2 separate regions of the Homo sapiens genome follow, and region 2 is linked to region 1. The links are contacts of gene promoters, found by promoter capture Hi-C in blood cells and fetal thymus (Javierre and others, 2016). All regions are on one chromosome and are shown on one strand. The core of a region is centred on a gene start or on the middle of the fragment in contact, and the rest is flanking DNA. Distances in the headings are between cores, read along the strand shown.

Evidence for each region. Contacts are between HindIII fragments. The CHiCAGO score rates a contact against its expected background, and 5 or more counts as called.
Region 2: the fragment with the promoter of ZNF350 here is called in contact with the fragment with the promoter of ZNF543 in region 1 in 3 of 17 cell types (total CD4 T cells, non-activated CD4 T cells and naive CD4 T cells); the score reaches 12.3 in total CD4 T cells.

What each region holds. Positions count from the first base shown.
Region 1 is chr19:57,314,668-57,322,035 of GRCh38, reverse strand. It overlaps ZNF543 (zinc finger protein 543), which reads right to left and starts at 1,564. Exons shown (of 4, transcript NM_213598.4): 1 at 1,165-1,564. The coding sequence starts at 1,182. It also overlaps the pseudogene LOC100288211. RefSeq lists enhancers at 1,466-1,615, 1,626-1,745, 2,671-3,188 and a silencer at 4,261-4,555. The HindIII fragment of the contact is 3,609 bases long and covers 577-4,185 here.
Region 2 is chr19:51,984,012-51,991,657 of GRCh38, reverse strand. ZNF350 (zinc finger protein 350) reads left to right here and starts at 4,818. Exons shown (of 5, transcript NM_021632.4): 1 at 4,818-4,888. It overlaps ZNF615 (zinc finger protein 615), which reads left to right. Exons shown (of 7, transcript NM_001199324.2): 7 at 1-326. RefSeq lists enhancers at 4,652-4,891, 4,478-5,353. The HindIII fragment of the contact is 6,623 bases long and covers 1-5,353 here.

The DNA.
Region 1 (7,368 bases), core at 315-2,814:
CACATCTAGCAAAAGACCACAAAATCTTGTGTCCCAAGACATGTGTCAGCTGGTATAGGAGAAAACCACTCAGGAAACCACTGTGGAAGCCACACGGGTCCCCTGCGGACTCCTTAAACAACCAATAAACCATTTTTTTTTAGTCCACACAGTTCCACCAGCATGAAATGCCATGACTCCTCATGTCCAAGACCACCTGCTAGAAGGAAGCCTGCTCAACTTGCAAAGTTTACTTTAGGTGTCACCCCCAGGCCTCCCTAACCATTGCGGGCAAAGAAGAGGGTAAAAACACAGGCTGTGATGGTAGACACACCAGTTGTTAGTTTCTGATACTTAAGAGCTACAGTGATGTAAGGCAGGTAATTGAACCTATGTGAGCCTCCAGCTGCTCTTGTGTAAAACAGTGAGGACAAGAGAACCTAATTCTAAGGAGTTCAGGATTAAAGGAGCTGAGGGTTAAATAATGCCTGCCAATCAGCCCACAGCAAGGACTCTTTATGATCAGCTGTCACTCTTTGCAATTATTTCGTTTCTCTTTGTTCACATAACATCCTAGACCAACTCAAACGGCAAGCTTCTTTAATATCGTCAGATTCTCTATACAAAAATGCCACACATTGCCAAAAATGGGCAAGTGCGTAAGGCGCCACTTTAGCCGGAATTGCCAAGAAAGCCACCTCCAAATAGGTGACATCTGGACAGAGGCCAGAAAGATATGAGAGGGAGGCCCTGCGAAGTTATAGGGGCAGTGTTCAAGGCAAAGGGAAGTGCAAAGAGAAAGCCTGGAAAAAGGAAGAAGACTGCACGGTCAGGTTGGTGGCTCTGAAGAGCAAAGGACAAGGGAAAAATGGAGAGACAAGGTCAGGGGTGGTTGGCCAGGTGGATGGGGTAGGGGCTGGCAGGCAACAGAGGAGGTTGGATTTAAGGGAAGTGTGATGAGATCCATGAAGGAAGCATCATTCATCCTTCTACCAAGGACTGAGCACCTGTCGGAGGCCAACACTATTGCAGGACTGCGGATAAAGGAAATGACAAGCTACGGCCACTTCTCTTAAATAAACGACGGCGACAAAGAAACATCCTGTGGCTGTCTTGGCTTCTGCCTGCCCACGAGGCCTCCAGAAGTAGCAGAGCAGCAGCAAGGCCAAAACCTCGTCCACTCACCTGCGCCGAGGCTGCCATCCTGAGACCCTGCAGCCCTAGCGGGGCCCGGGAATGCCGCGGCTCAGCCGACCCCCAGCCCTTCTCTGTCCTGGGCGGGGCGACCTCGGCTGACTTTCGCACTCGGAGCCTCAGTTTCCCCAGAGAAAAATGCGCACAAAGCGGGCGCAGCGTCGGGGCTGAGGAGACGGAGGGCGGCTGCGGAGGCCTAGGCCTCGGCAGGCGCCGGTGGAACACCCCGTTAGGGAAGAAGCGGGGCGTCAGGCTCCCGCCAAGATGCGGAGAAGGCGCGTAACAGCCTCATTACCCTCCCCTGCTCAGGCCGCTGGACGCGCCTACCCAGCGGTCCAGGCCCCACACTGTTCCAGGGCCAATCCTGCTCACGGAGATGACGTCACGCGACGAAGCGGAAGTCCCACCTCCGCCGCCCTGGCCCGCAGAAATCGCCCGTGTCCTGGCCCGTCATTGGCCTAGAGTCCGCGGCCGACGCAAGGGGTGGTGCCTTCTGAGTAAGGCAGTTTTTCCCTCACATCTACCGGGTGTGGGAACTCACCAAGCGCAGCCGACTCCATTTAAGTGCGCACAAGGACCCCCGCGTCGTCTTAGGGCCGCCGCTTTACTATGGGCACAAGTCGGAGGGTCGAAAGGTCCTTTCTAGCTTAGGAAAATTGAGGTCAGGAGGCGGGGATATTCGCCCCGATTGAGATCATGGGCTGGGCCCAGAGCTTCTGGCTCACTTCCCTTATTTTAGGGAGGTAGCTCATATATGTAATCTCAGTGCTTTGGGATGCCAACACAAAATAATTGCTGAGGTCAGGAGTTTGAGACCACCCTGGGCAATATAGTAAGATGTTATATCTACCAAAAAAAAAAAAAAGAGCAAGGCATGATGGTGTACACCTGTAGTCCTAGACACTGGGAGGCTGAAGCAAGAGGATTGCTTGAGCCCAGGAATTTGAGGTTATAATGAGATATGATGAGAGAAAACACACACACATAAACACACTGAGATGCCATCTTATACTGGTCAGAGTGGCTATTATTAAAAAGTAAAAAACCAACAGATGTTGGTATGGATGCAAGGAAAAGGGAACGCTTATATGCTATTGGTGGGAATGTAAATTAGTACAACCTCTATGGAAAACAGTATGGAGATTTATCAAAGAACTGAAAATAGAACTGCCATTTGATCTGGCAATTCCACTATTGGGTATTTACTTAAAGGAAAATAAACCACTATATCAAAAAGATGCCTGTACTTACATGCTTACTGTAGCACTATTCACAGTAGCAAAGTCATAGAATCAACCTAAGTGTCCATCGACAGATGATTGGATAAAGAAAATGCGATATATATATGTATATATATGTATGTATATGTATATATGTATATATATGTATGTATATGTATATATGTATGTATATGTATATATATGTATATATGTATGTATATGTATATATATGTATATATGTATGTATATGTATATATATGTGTATATATGTATGTATATGTATATATATGTATATATATGTATGTATATGTATATATATGTATGTATATGTATATATATGTATATATATGTATGTATATGTATATATATGTATATATATGTATGTATATGTATATATGTATATATGTATGTATATGTATATATATGTATATATATGTATGTATATGTATATATGTGTATATATATATACACTCCATGGAATACTACTCAGTCATTAAAAAAAATCATGGCTTTTGCAGCAATATGGCTGGAACTGGGGGGCCATTCTCTTAAGTGAAATAATTCAGAAACAAAGTCAAATACTGCATGTTATCACTTATAAGTGGTAGCTAAATGATGTATACATATGGAAATAGTGGAATAATAGACACTGGAGATTCAAAAAGGTGGGAGGCATTGCCGGGGACCCCTCACACCATGGTGCTTCACTCACCTACACCACAGCCATGCCACCCCATTGGCACACACTTGCAGGTAGCCCCCCTCTACTGCCCAAGTGGTGCACACTTGCCTGTGGCCTCCCCATCCCCCAGCCACAGTGCACTCTCTGCAGTCCCCACAATGCTCTGCTGGAGCACTTTTGCCAGCAGACTGAGAACACCTCAGCCCCTCTAGCACAGCAGGTGCTTCACCCCAAGCAGCCAGAGAACAAAGCCAAGGGCTTAATCCCCTCTACCCAGGTTTACAGCATGCAGCTCAGGAGTGCTCAGCTGAGCCTTGGCCTGTGAAAGCACCCATAATTGAAACCATGAAACTAAACCCAACTTATACCACAGTAAAACTCCCAAGGGCATCAAATAATATAAAAGCAGAAAGCCCCATCCAAAGGAGAGCAACTTCAAAGATTCAAGGAACATCAGCCCACACATATGAGAAAGAACCAGTGCAAGATTTCTGGCAACTCTAAAGGTCTCCAAACGACTGCACTAGCTCCCTAGTGATGGTTTGGAACCATGCTTAAATGGCTGAAATGACTTAGAATTCAGAGTCTGGATGGCAAGGAAGGAAAAATCCAAGGAAACCAATAATGCAATCCAAGAGTTTAAATATAATATTACCATATTAACAAAGAACCAAAATGGGCTGGGCACGGTGGCTCACGTCTGTAATCCCAGCACTTTGGGAGGCTGATGCGGGTGGATCACTTGAGGTCAGGAGTTCGAAACCAGCCTGACCAACATGGTGAAACCCTATCTCTACTATAAATACAGAAATTAGCTGGGTGTGCTGGCAGGCACCTGTAATCCCAGCTACTCGGGAGGCTGAGGCACAAGAGTCCCTTGGATCCAGGAGATGGAGGTTGCAGTGAGCCAAGATCATGCCATTGCACTCCAGCCTGTGCAACAGAGCAAGACTCCGTCTCAAAAAAAAAAAAAAAAAAAAAAAAAGAAAGAAAAAAAAGAAAGAAAAGAAAAAGAGTCATCAAACTGAACTTCTGGAAATAAGAAATTAACTACAGCAATTGCAATTTCATAATGTAACTGGAAGCGCTAACAACAGAATAGACCAAGCTTAGAAAATAGTCTCAGAGCTCAGTTTTTCCCCATGTGTCTGCCGCCTAGGGGAGGTGCCTCATCCGGAGCGGGCCGCCAGCTGTCCGGCCCTGTCCGCACAGAGGCTCCTGTCGTTGGCGCCCGGGAGTGGCTTGGCTGCCCGATGCTTCTGCCCCGGCTGCCACGGGCAGGGCTGTACGCTTAGTGCCCGGCTCAGGCCCCTTGAAGCGCCCGCGGGGGTGGGAGCGGCCTCCGGCCCCGCGGAGACCGAGCGGCTTGAGGACTAGGCGGCGGCCGCGGGGAGGAGGATGGGGGCTAACCAGTTAGTGGTGCTCAACGTGTGTGACATGTATTGGATGAAGGAATATACCTCATCCATTGGAATTGGAGTTTTTCATTCAGAAATTGAAGTCTATGGCAGAGAATTTGCTTATGGTGGCCATCCTTACCCCTTTTCTGGAATATTTGAAATTTCCCCAGGAAATGCTTCTGAACTAGGAGAACCATTTAAATTTAAAGAAGTTGTTTTAGGGAGCACGGACTTCCTAGAAGATGATATAGAAAAAATTGTAGAAGAACTGGGAAAAGAATACAAAGGCAATGTTTATCATTTAATGCATAAAAACTGCAATCATTTTTCTTCAGCTTTATCAGAGGTAAACTAAATTTTATCCTAAAAGTTCTTCAAATAAGTGTTTGCTATCCCACAAAAAAAAAGAAAATAATCTCAGAGCTCAAACACGACTCCTTTGAACCAATACAGCAGAAAAAAATAAAGAAAAAAGAATTTTAAAAAATGAATAAAACCTACAAGAAATATGGGATATGTAAAAAGACCAAGCCTATAACACATTGGCATTCCAGAAAGAGATGGAGAGACAACAAGGAACTTGGAAAACATATTTGATGATACTGTCCATGAACATTTCCCCAACCACACTAGAGAGGTTGACATGCAAATTCAGGACATTCAGAGAACCCCTGTGAGATGATATTATACAAGATGACCATCCCTAAGACACATAGTCATCAGATTCTCCAAGGTCAATACAAAAGAAAAACATTAAAGGCAGCTAGAGAGAAGTGGCAGGTTACCCACAAAAGGAACCCGATCAGGCTAACCGTGGACCTTTCAGAAAGTTTACAAGCTGGAAGAGACTGGGGGCCTATATTCAGCATTTTTAAATGAAAGAAATTTGAACCAAGAATTTAATATCCAACCAAACTAAACTTCATTAAGTGAAGGATAAATAAAATCTTTTTCAGACAAACAAATGTTAAGGGAATTCATTACTACCAGACCTGCCTTACAAGAAGTCCTTAAAACAGTGCTAAACCTAGAAGCAAAAGATGAGTATCTGCCACCACAGAAACAACTTGAGCACATATCCTGTTGATACTACAAACCAACTATACAATAAAGTCCACATAACAACCAGCTAACAACATAATGACAGGATCAAATCCTCACTTATCAATATTGACCTTGAATGTAAATAGGCTAAATGCCCCACTTAGAAGGCACAAGGTGGCAAGTTGGAAAAAGAAATGAAACCCAACTGTGTATTCTCTTCATTAGACACATCTCACATGCAATGACACCCATAGGCACAAAGTAAAAGGATGGAGAAAGATCAAGCAAATGGGAAAAAAAAGAGCAGGGATTGCTATTTCACACGAAACAGACTTTAGACCAACAATGATCAAAAAAGGCAAAGAAGGGCATCACATAGTGATAAAGGATTCAATTCAACAAGACTTAACTATCCCAAATATATATGCACCAAACACTGGAGCACCCATATTCATGAAACAAGTTCTTAGAGACCTACAACAAGACTTAGACAACCAGACAATAATAGCAGGAGACTTCAACACCCCACTGACAGTGTTAGATGCATCACCAAGGCAGAAAGCTAACAAAGGTATTTGGAAGCTAAACTGGACATTTGACCAAATAGACCTTACAGAAATCTACAGAATACTCTACCCAACAACCACAGAACATACATTCTTTTCATCTGCACATGTCACATATTCTAAGATCAATCACATACTTGGCCATAAAGCAATACTCAACAATTAAAAAAAAAGTCATACCAACCACACTCTCAGACCATAGCACAGTAGAAACAGAAATCAATACCTAGAAGAACTCTCAAAACCATACAATTACATGGAAATTAAACAATCTTCTCCTGAATGTGTTTTAGGTAAAGAATGAAATCAAGACAAATAAAAAAATTCCTTGAAACTAATTAAAACAGAGATACAACATACCAGAATCTTTGGGACACAGCTAAAGCAGTGTTGAAAGTTTATAGTGCAAAATGCCTACACCAAGAAGTTAGATAAATCTCAAGTTAACAAAATAACATCACACCTAGAGGAACTAAAAGAAAAAAAAAACAACCCCAAAAGAAAGAAAAGCAGCAGAGAAAAATAACCAATATCAGAGTTGAACTGAATAAAACTGAGATGTGAAAATCTACACAAAGATCATAAAACCGTAAGTTGGTTTTTCAAAAGAATAAACAACACTGGTAGCCCACTAGCTAGATTAATAAGGAAAAAAGAAGATGCAAAAAAACGCAATCAGAAATGTTAAAGGTGACATTACCACCTACCCCACAGAAGTACAAAATTCTCTCAGAGACTATTAAGAACTAAAAACTTAGCACACAAACTAAAAAACCTAGAAGAAATGGATACATTCCTTGAAACATACAACCTCCTAAGATTGAACCAGGAAGAAATTGAAATCCTGAACAGACCAGTAATGAGTTCTGAAATTGAATCAGTAATTAAAAAGCTACCAACCAGAAAAAGCCCTGGACCAGGTGGATTCACAGTTGTATTCTACCAGATGTAAAAAGACGTGGTACTAATCCTACTGAAATTATTCCCAAAAAATCAAGGAGGCGGGACTACTCCCTAACTTATTCTGTGAGGCCAGAGTCATCCTGATACCAAAACCTGGCAGAGGCAAAATGAAAAAAGAAAATGTTAGGCCAATATCCCTGATAAACATAAATGCAAAATTCTCAACAAAATACTAGTTAACTGAATCCAACAGCATATCAGAAAGCTAATCCACCACGATCACCACACTCAAGCAGGCTTTATATCTGGCATGCAAAGTTGGCTCAACATATGCAAATTAAGAAATGTGATTCATCACATAAACAGAACAAAAAAACAAA
Region 2 (7,646 bases), core at 3,569-6,068, 5.3 Mb after region 1:
TCCTTGTTTATAGTCACAACCTCTCCTCAGCCCTAACCCTTGGCAATCAGAAATCTTTTCATCTTTAGTTTTGTCATTAGTAGCATGTTATAAAAATGGAATCATACAGCATGTACCCTTTTGGTATTGGCTATTTCAACTAAAGCAGATTAACCTGAAATCCATCCAAGTTGTTCTGCATATCATTGTTCTGTTTTTATTGGCCACTAATAATCTATGATACGAATATACCACTATTTGTTTATTCACCCACTGAAGGACATTAGTTTTGTTCCCGGTTTTTCTTACTGTTACAAATAAAAATCCTATGAACATTTGTACACACAGGCTTTGTGTGAGCACAATTTTTTACTTCTCTAGGATAATTACTGCAGAGTATGATTCATGGGTCATAAGGTAAGTGTATGTTTACCTTTGTAAGATACTAACCAGAGTGGTGTTTCATTGCTCACCAACAATATATAGAAAGGTTCAGTTGCTCCACATTCTTCCACTTGATGCTGTCAGTATTTTTTTTGTTTTGTATTGTTTTGTTTTGAGATGTAGTCTTGCTCTGTTGACCAGGCTAGAGTGCAGTGGCACGATCTTGGCTTGCTGCACCCTCTGCCTCCGGGGTTCAAGTGATTCTCCTGCTTCAGCCTCCTGAGTAGCTGGGATTACAGGTGCCTGCCACTGCGCCTGGCTAATTTTTGTATTTTTAGTAGTGACGGGGTTTCATCATCTTGGCCAGGCTGGTCTCGAACTCCTGACCTTGTGATCCACCCGCCTCAGCCTCCTGAAGTGCTGGGATTACAGGCGTGAGCCACCACGCAGGACTGGAATGTTTTATTTTACCTATTCTATTGTGTGTGTATTGGTATGAATACAAACATACCAATTGTATGTGGCCTTCCATTTGCACCTCCCTAAAGGCTTTTTTTTTTTTTTTTTTAAGAGACAAGGTCTCACTATGTTGCTCAGGCTGGAGTGCAGTGGCTATTCACAGGCACCATTATAGCACACTACAGTCTCAAACTCCTGGTCTTGAGAAGTTTTCTGTCCCAGCCTCCAGAGTAGCTGGGACTGCAGGCATTTGCCACTGTGCGCTGCTTAGAGCATTGTTTATTAATGCTGGATAAAGATTTTATCCAGCTGGATAAAGGTTTTATATCACTTGCAAATATTTTTCCATAGATGTGGTTCTTTCTTTTTTTCTCTCAGAGAAAAAGATTTTAATTATGATGAAGTCCAACTTTTTTTTTTGAGATGGAATCTTGCTGTCTTGCCCAGGCTGGAGTGCAATGGCATGATCTCGGCTCACTGCAACCTCTGCCTCCCAGGTTCAAGTGATTCTTCTGCCTCAGCCTCCCGAGTAGCTGGGATTACAGGCACCTGCCATCATGTCCCACTAATTTTTGTACTTTTGTAGAGATTGGGGTTTCACCGTGTTGGCCAAACTGGGCTCAAACTCCTGACCTCAGGTGATCTGTCCACCATGGCCTCCCAAAGTGCTGGGATTACAGGTGTGAGCCATTGCACCCAGCCTTTTTTTTTTTAATGGATTGTGGGGTTTTGGCATTACATCTAAGTATTCCTTCCTTACTGTAATTGATAATTCTTTTTCCACTTCCTTTGACAAAATAATGTAGTTTTGCTTCTTTTTTTTTTTTTTTTTTTTTTTTTTTTTGAGACAGAGTCTCACTCTCTCACCCAGGCTGGAGTTCAATGGCATGATCTTGGCTCACTGCAACCTCCGCCTCCTGGGTTTAGGTGATTCTCCTGCCTCAGCCTCCCAAGTAGCTAGGATTACAGGCACGCACCGGCATGCTCAGCTAATTTTTGTATTTTTAGTAGAGACGGGGTTTCACCATGTTGGCCAAGATGGTCTTGATCTCCTGACCTCGTGATCTGGCCACCTCAGCCTCCCAAAGTGCTGGGATTGCAGGCGTGAGACACCACGCCCAGCCAGTTTTGCTTTTTAATATTTAGCAATATCCATTTAAATTCATCTTTGTATATAGGGTAAGGGTTAATTTAAAGTTCAGCCTATGGTTGCCCAGTTGATTCAACAGTATTGAAAACACTGTCCTCTTTCCATTAAATTGATTTTGAACATTTGTAAAAATCAGTTGCCTGTTCTTGTGTCCATTTCTTGACTCTATTCTGTTGATGTGCGTGTCTATCACTCCACTAATAATCTACGGTCACTCCCATCAGAAATGACATAATATGCTCTATGAGGTAAAACAGCTATGTTACCTCATATAAAATGTTCAAAGCCAGAACCTGGACTTTGGGAAATGTCCCATATCCCTCTCCGGAAGCCCGCCTCCCAGTCTCTCGGTGTTCTTAGAGATGGCGAAGGATGGGGTTGCAGCACCAGAATTCCAGAATCGGAAGTAGGTTCTGATACGTGTTCAGCCTTTGGCAGCTGCTACTGTAGCCTTGAAAGCCTGATGCTGCGTGTGAATCCGGATGGGGAGCTTGTGGGGACGACCATGAAGTGGAAACGCATGTGAATGTCCGTGTTCAGGGGTTTTATTTCAGTTTAGTCACCGAGGAATATGGGTGTGAGAAAGAGACCCTTGGGATGTCAAAGGTTAAGGCTTAGTTTTAAGAGTTTAATGACTGAGGGTCCCACGGACAGAGCTTGAGGTCTATATGTTCACTTTTCATGAGTCTCAGTAATAGAAAACTGGGGAAAGTGTGTCTCAGTGAATGCTGTTTTTTGCTCAGATTTGCAATTTAATATGGGGCTCAGATACAGAGAAGCCCGAGCTAGGAAGAGGAGTGGCGTGAATGAAAGGTCTAGGGGGAGGAGTGTCAAAGGAGTGCCTCTGTGGTAAGTTTTAAATTGAATTTGAAGGCAATTTTATTTAGAGGAAGACGGGGCTTGTCTGTGTTTGAGAATGTAATGAGGCTGGAGGCTTTCAGGTGTGCAGTTGAAGGTTAGTGGTTGCTTTGAGACTAACTGGATGCTGGAAACACTTCCTGTCAGTCTTTCAAGTCCAAATCTGTCCTGAAGGTTTCTATTTAAAAACTTTTTCTTCCTAGGTCCACTATTCTCATTGTACCCATAAAAATCAGAGTAATTCAGGGTGACGAAGTGGTGTCTTTACCGAGGAGTCTTGCTCTGTCGCCCAGGCTGGGGTGCAGTGGCGCGATCTCGGCTTACTGCAACCTCCGCCTCCCGGATTCAAGCGATTCTCCTGCCTCAGGCTCCCGAGTAGCTGGGATTACAGGCGCGCGCCACCGCGTCCGGGTAATTTTTGTATTTTTAGTAGAGACTGGTTTCGCTTTGTTGGCCAGGCTGGTCTGGAACTCCTGACCTCAGATGATCCGCCTGCCTCGGCCTCCCAAAGTGCTGGGATTACAGGTGTGAGCCACCGTGCCCCACTTCACTTTCTTAAATGTTGTGTTTAGAAGCACAAACTTAAAAAAAAATCAAGTCCACTTTATTAATTTTATTTTGTTTTGTGGGTCATCCTTTACTCTCCTCTCAGAATTAACTCACGTCCATGAGGATTATCTCCCTTTTCCTTCTCTAAGTTTTATACTTTCTCTTAAACTTAGATCTATGATCTATTTTGAGTTAACTTTTGTGTATGGTTTGAGGGTCCTAACTCATTTTTCTGGATGTGGATATCCAATTATCCCAGTGCCGCTTGTTGAAAAGACTATTCTTATTGAATTGTCTTGGCACTTTTGTCAAAAACTCTTAACAATATTTTTATACTCTCAATTCTGGCTCTGCTCTTCCCATTGGCACCTTTACTAAAAGTGGCCTTTCTAGGAGGCCCAATTCCTTTAGTCTGTCGTGGCCAGGCTCACATCGTAATTCATTCTCAAAATCTCTTTTCTCTCCTCTCCTCTCCTCTTTTCTCTTCTTTTCTCCTCTTTTCTCTTCCTTCTCCTCCTCCTCTTCCTCCTTCTTCTTCTTCTTTTTTGTAAATAATAATCATTTTTTCGAGGCCAGGCGCGGTGGCTCACACCTGTAATCCCAGCACTTTGGGAGGCCGAGACAGGCAGATCACGAGGTCAGGAGGTCGAGATCATCTTGGCCAACATGGTGAAAGCCAGTCTCTACTAAAAATACAAAAATTAGCTGGGCGTGGTGGCGCGTGCCTGTAGTCCCAGCTACTTGGGAGGCTAAGGCAGGAGAATCGCTTGAACCAGGGAGGCAGAGGTTGCAGTGAGCCCAGATCTCGCCACTGCACTCCAGCCTGGCGACAGAGCAAGACTCCGTCTCAAAAAAAATTATAATTTTTTTCTTTCTTCACCACCCGCCCCCCCGAATACCTGCTATTTTTCTGTTCTTAAAAACCGCTTCCTGCAAGCTAATTTTCGCCAGACGCTTTCCCGTGGGTGTCTGCCTACCTGATGTGTTGCCTTTTCCCTTTCTACCTGATCTGTTACCTTTTCCATTTCCAATTCATTCTCTGGGATACCTACACCTGGCTGCACTGTTACTTGTCTTTTTCAAAACCTTTTTTTTTAAATTTAACAAAGTGGATGGAAAAGCGCTAAAGGCAATTTAGCTTGCCCCATATTTGCCTGATAAAGCCTGAGTCTCTGAAAATCTGCCCCCTTTCGCAAGACTTTAAGTGCCAGGAAACGAGGCGATTTCAGTGACTTCTCTTCTTCCCTGGCTCCTGGCTCAAAAACCTGCCACTGCCTTCTGTGCGTCCAATTTTCAAACATGGCTGCCGTCAGGAGCCACGGCTATGGGCGCGGCCATTTTACAGAGTAGGAAATGCCGTAAATGCGCTTGTCCTTGCTCTTTTAAACATTTTAGGTTCTCCTCGGCCGCCGTAGGTGGACCATAAACCCGTGCGAGGACTCCAGAAGTAGGAGCAGTTTACGGAAGTGTAACGTTGAGGCCCTTCTTGTGTATCTGGAGAAAATAGAGGTCAGTGTGTGGTTTTGTCCCTGAAAGTTTTTTGTCCTAGTTCAGGTTTTGTCTCAGTGGAAGGTTTGGGAGATCTGAGGACGTGGTGTACCCTGGACCACATAGTTTTTGGCAGGAAGACTGGGGAGCGCCGGGGTATAGGCATTTGGGAGGTACCTGGTGGGAGTCTGTGATCCCCCTGTCTGTGGTCCGCGTGCCTTTGGTGTGAGTACAGTGACTAAGGGTCTGTAGTGATCAACGGCCGTGTCCTAACTGTCAAGGTATGGATCACTCTGCTTGTAAAGGATGGAGGTGGCGATTAGGATCGATGCGGCGTCTGCTTCGGGTTCAGGATTTAATTTGGAACTCAGTGATGTTGGAGTCTGGGAGGATGTCCATCGCTGTAGAGTGTCTGGTCCGTGGTTCGGATGAGTAAGAGGCATGGGGCCAGTGTCTGTGGTACAAAGGCTTGTGAGGGCTGAAGCTTTCGAGACTTTGGAGCCCTGGGTCCTGGGTTGAGGTTCGAACCTCGGTTACTGGGGCAAAAGGCGACACAGCCCCCAGCATTAGTTCGAAACCATATATCTACTCTTCTGATCCTTGGGGTGGCTATTTACAGATCGGGGGGTCAAGTTCAGTCATACCCTCCGATTATATATTGTCTATGGCTGCAAAGGCAGCGGTTGAGTTGTTGTGACAGAGACCTCGTGGCCGGCAAAATCGAAAATGTTGCCAACCTCTGCATTCACTTCTTTTATTTTTTATTTATTTTTTTTATTTTTTGAGACGGAGTTTCACTTTTGTCTCCCAGACTGGAGTGCAATGGCGCGATCTCGGCTCACTGCAATCTCCGCCTCCCGGGTTCAAGCGATTCTCCTGCCTCAGCCTCCTGAGTAGCTGGGACTACAGGCCCACGCCACCACGCCCGGCTAGTTTTTGTATTTTTAGTAGAGACAGGGTTTTACCACGTTGGGCAGGTTGGTCTCGAACTCCTGACCTCAGGTGATCCGCCCACCTTGGCTTTCCAAAGTGCTGGGATTACAGGCGTGAGCCACCGCGCCCGGCCTTCACTTCTTAATATATAGTGAGTGTTGCTTGCCCGCCTTATATTCACACTTTCTTAACAGAATCTCCATTTCGTGAAGTATTCATCCCTGTGGCAAGGCGACCCAAATCCCAGTTTCTTAGTAAGGCCTTGTTGGTCTTAGCCAATCTTGCTGGTTCCAATTGCCATTGCTAGTGATAGGTTTGACATGGAAATGAGCTTAGGCGTATGGTGCAATTCTAGCCAACTATGTATGTGAAAATCTGCCTGGGAGTTTCTGAGGGAGCATTTTCTTTTTTAAATATGTAATTTCTTGAATCTCTTTTTCCATGTTCGTGATGATATCGCCTGAAAATAACATTAATTTTCTGTCTTACTTTGTAATGCTTATAATTCATTCTTATCTTAATGCATTGGCTCAACTTTCCAGTATAAAGTAGGAAAATAGGGTGTTAGTGGACGTTCTTGTTTTATTACCCACCTGTAAAATTCACCCGTTGTGTTGTCTGGAGTTAACACCTTTCCTGGAGGTAAACTGTTTGGTATGGTTGATCTCTTCCTTTACTTTGTTAATTTTTCTACATTTATATATTTTAAATGTACAATTTAATTATCATGGAGGCAATATATGTATAAGCAGTCATTGCCCAGGTCAAGAAATAGAATATGGTCAGCACACCAGTGGTGTTCTGTGAGTCTTTTTCCATTCTCACACCGAAAAGTATTTTAGGCTTTTCTTTATATAATTAATCATTATTTATCATTGTAGTTAATACAGTTTTGCCTATTTTAAACTCTGTATATCAGTGGAATTGTACATCACTCTTTTTTTGTGTCAGCCTTCTTTTGCTCATTATTGGTGAGGGTCTTTCCTGTTGCATCTGAGTATATTTTCTTTGCTCAATGACAAGGATCAGGCGAATTTACAGTAAATATTTTAGGGCTTGCAGGCTACATATGGTCTCTTGCATATGCTAATTTGCTTTTTGTTTTACAGTCTTTCAAAAATGTAAAAAGCATTCTTGCAGGCTGGACCAAAGGTATAATAGGTTTTCTATCACATTCCATTATGTAAAATATAGCAGTTTTTTCTATTATTAATTACATTTGTATTACCTAAAGCTTGTATTATTAAGAATAATGCATGTGTGAAAATTTGTGTAAATGTCTTTTGGTTCATATGTGCTCTCATATGGGGGAGGCAGAGATGTATATCTAGATGTGCACCTCGGAGGAAAATTGCTGCTTCATAGAGTGTGTATAAACTCCGTCTAAATAGATGTCAAACTGTTTTCTAAAGTGGTTGTACCACTTACAGTTCCCCTAGCAGGATATAGTTTGCTTTATAGGGTGCTTTATGTGGCCTCTTTAAAATATCTGGCCATACCCTAATAACATTGAGAGATTCTCCTATATTAATGTTCTTTAAAGCTTTATTGATATGTTTCTACCATTGAAATTGACAGTTGATTCTAAAATGGTTTTTGTGTATGTTGTGAGGGGGGTTTTAACTTTCTGTCCCCATCCCCAGTACCATTTATTGATTTTTTTTTTTTTTTTTAATTTTTTTAGATAGAGTCTTGCTCTCGTCGCCCAGGCTGGAGTGTAGTGGCGTGCTTGGCTCAACTGCAACCTCTGCCTTCTGGGCTCAAGTGATTCTTGTGCCACGGCCTCCCGAGTAGCTGGAATTACCAGCAGGTGCCACCTTGCCTGGCTAATTTTTGTATTTTTAGT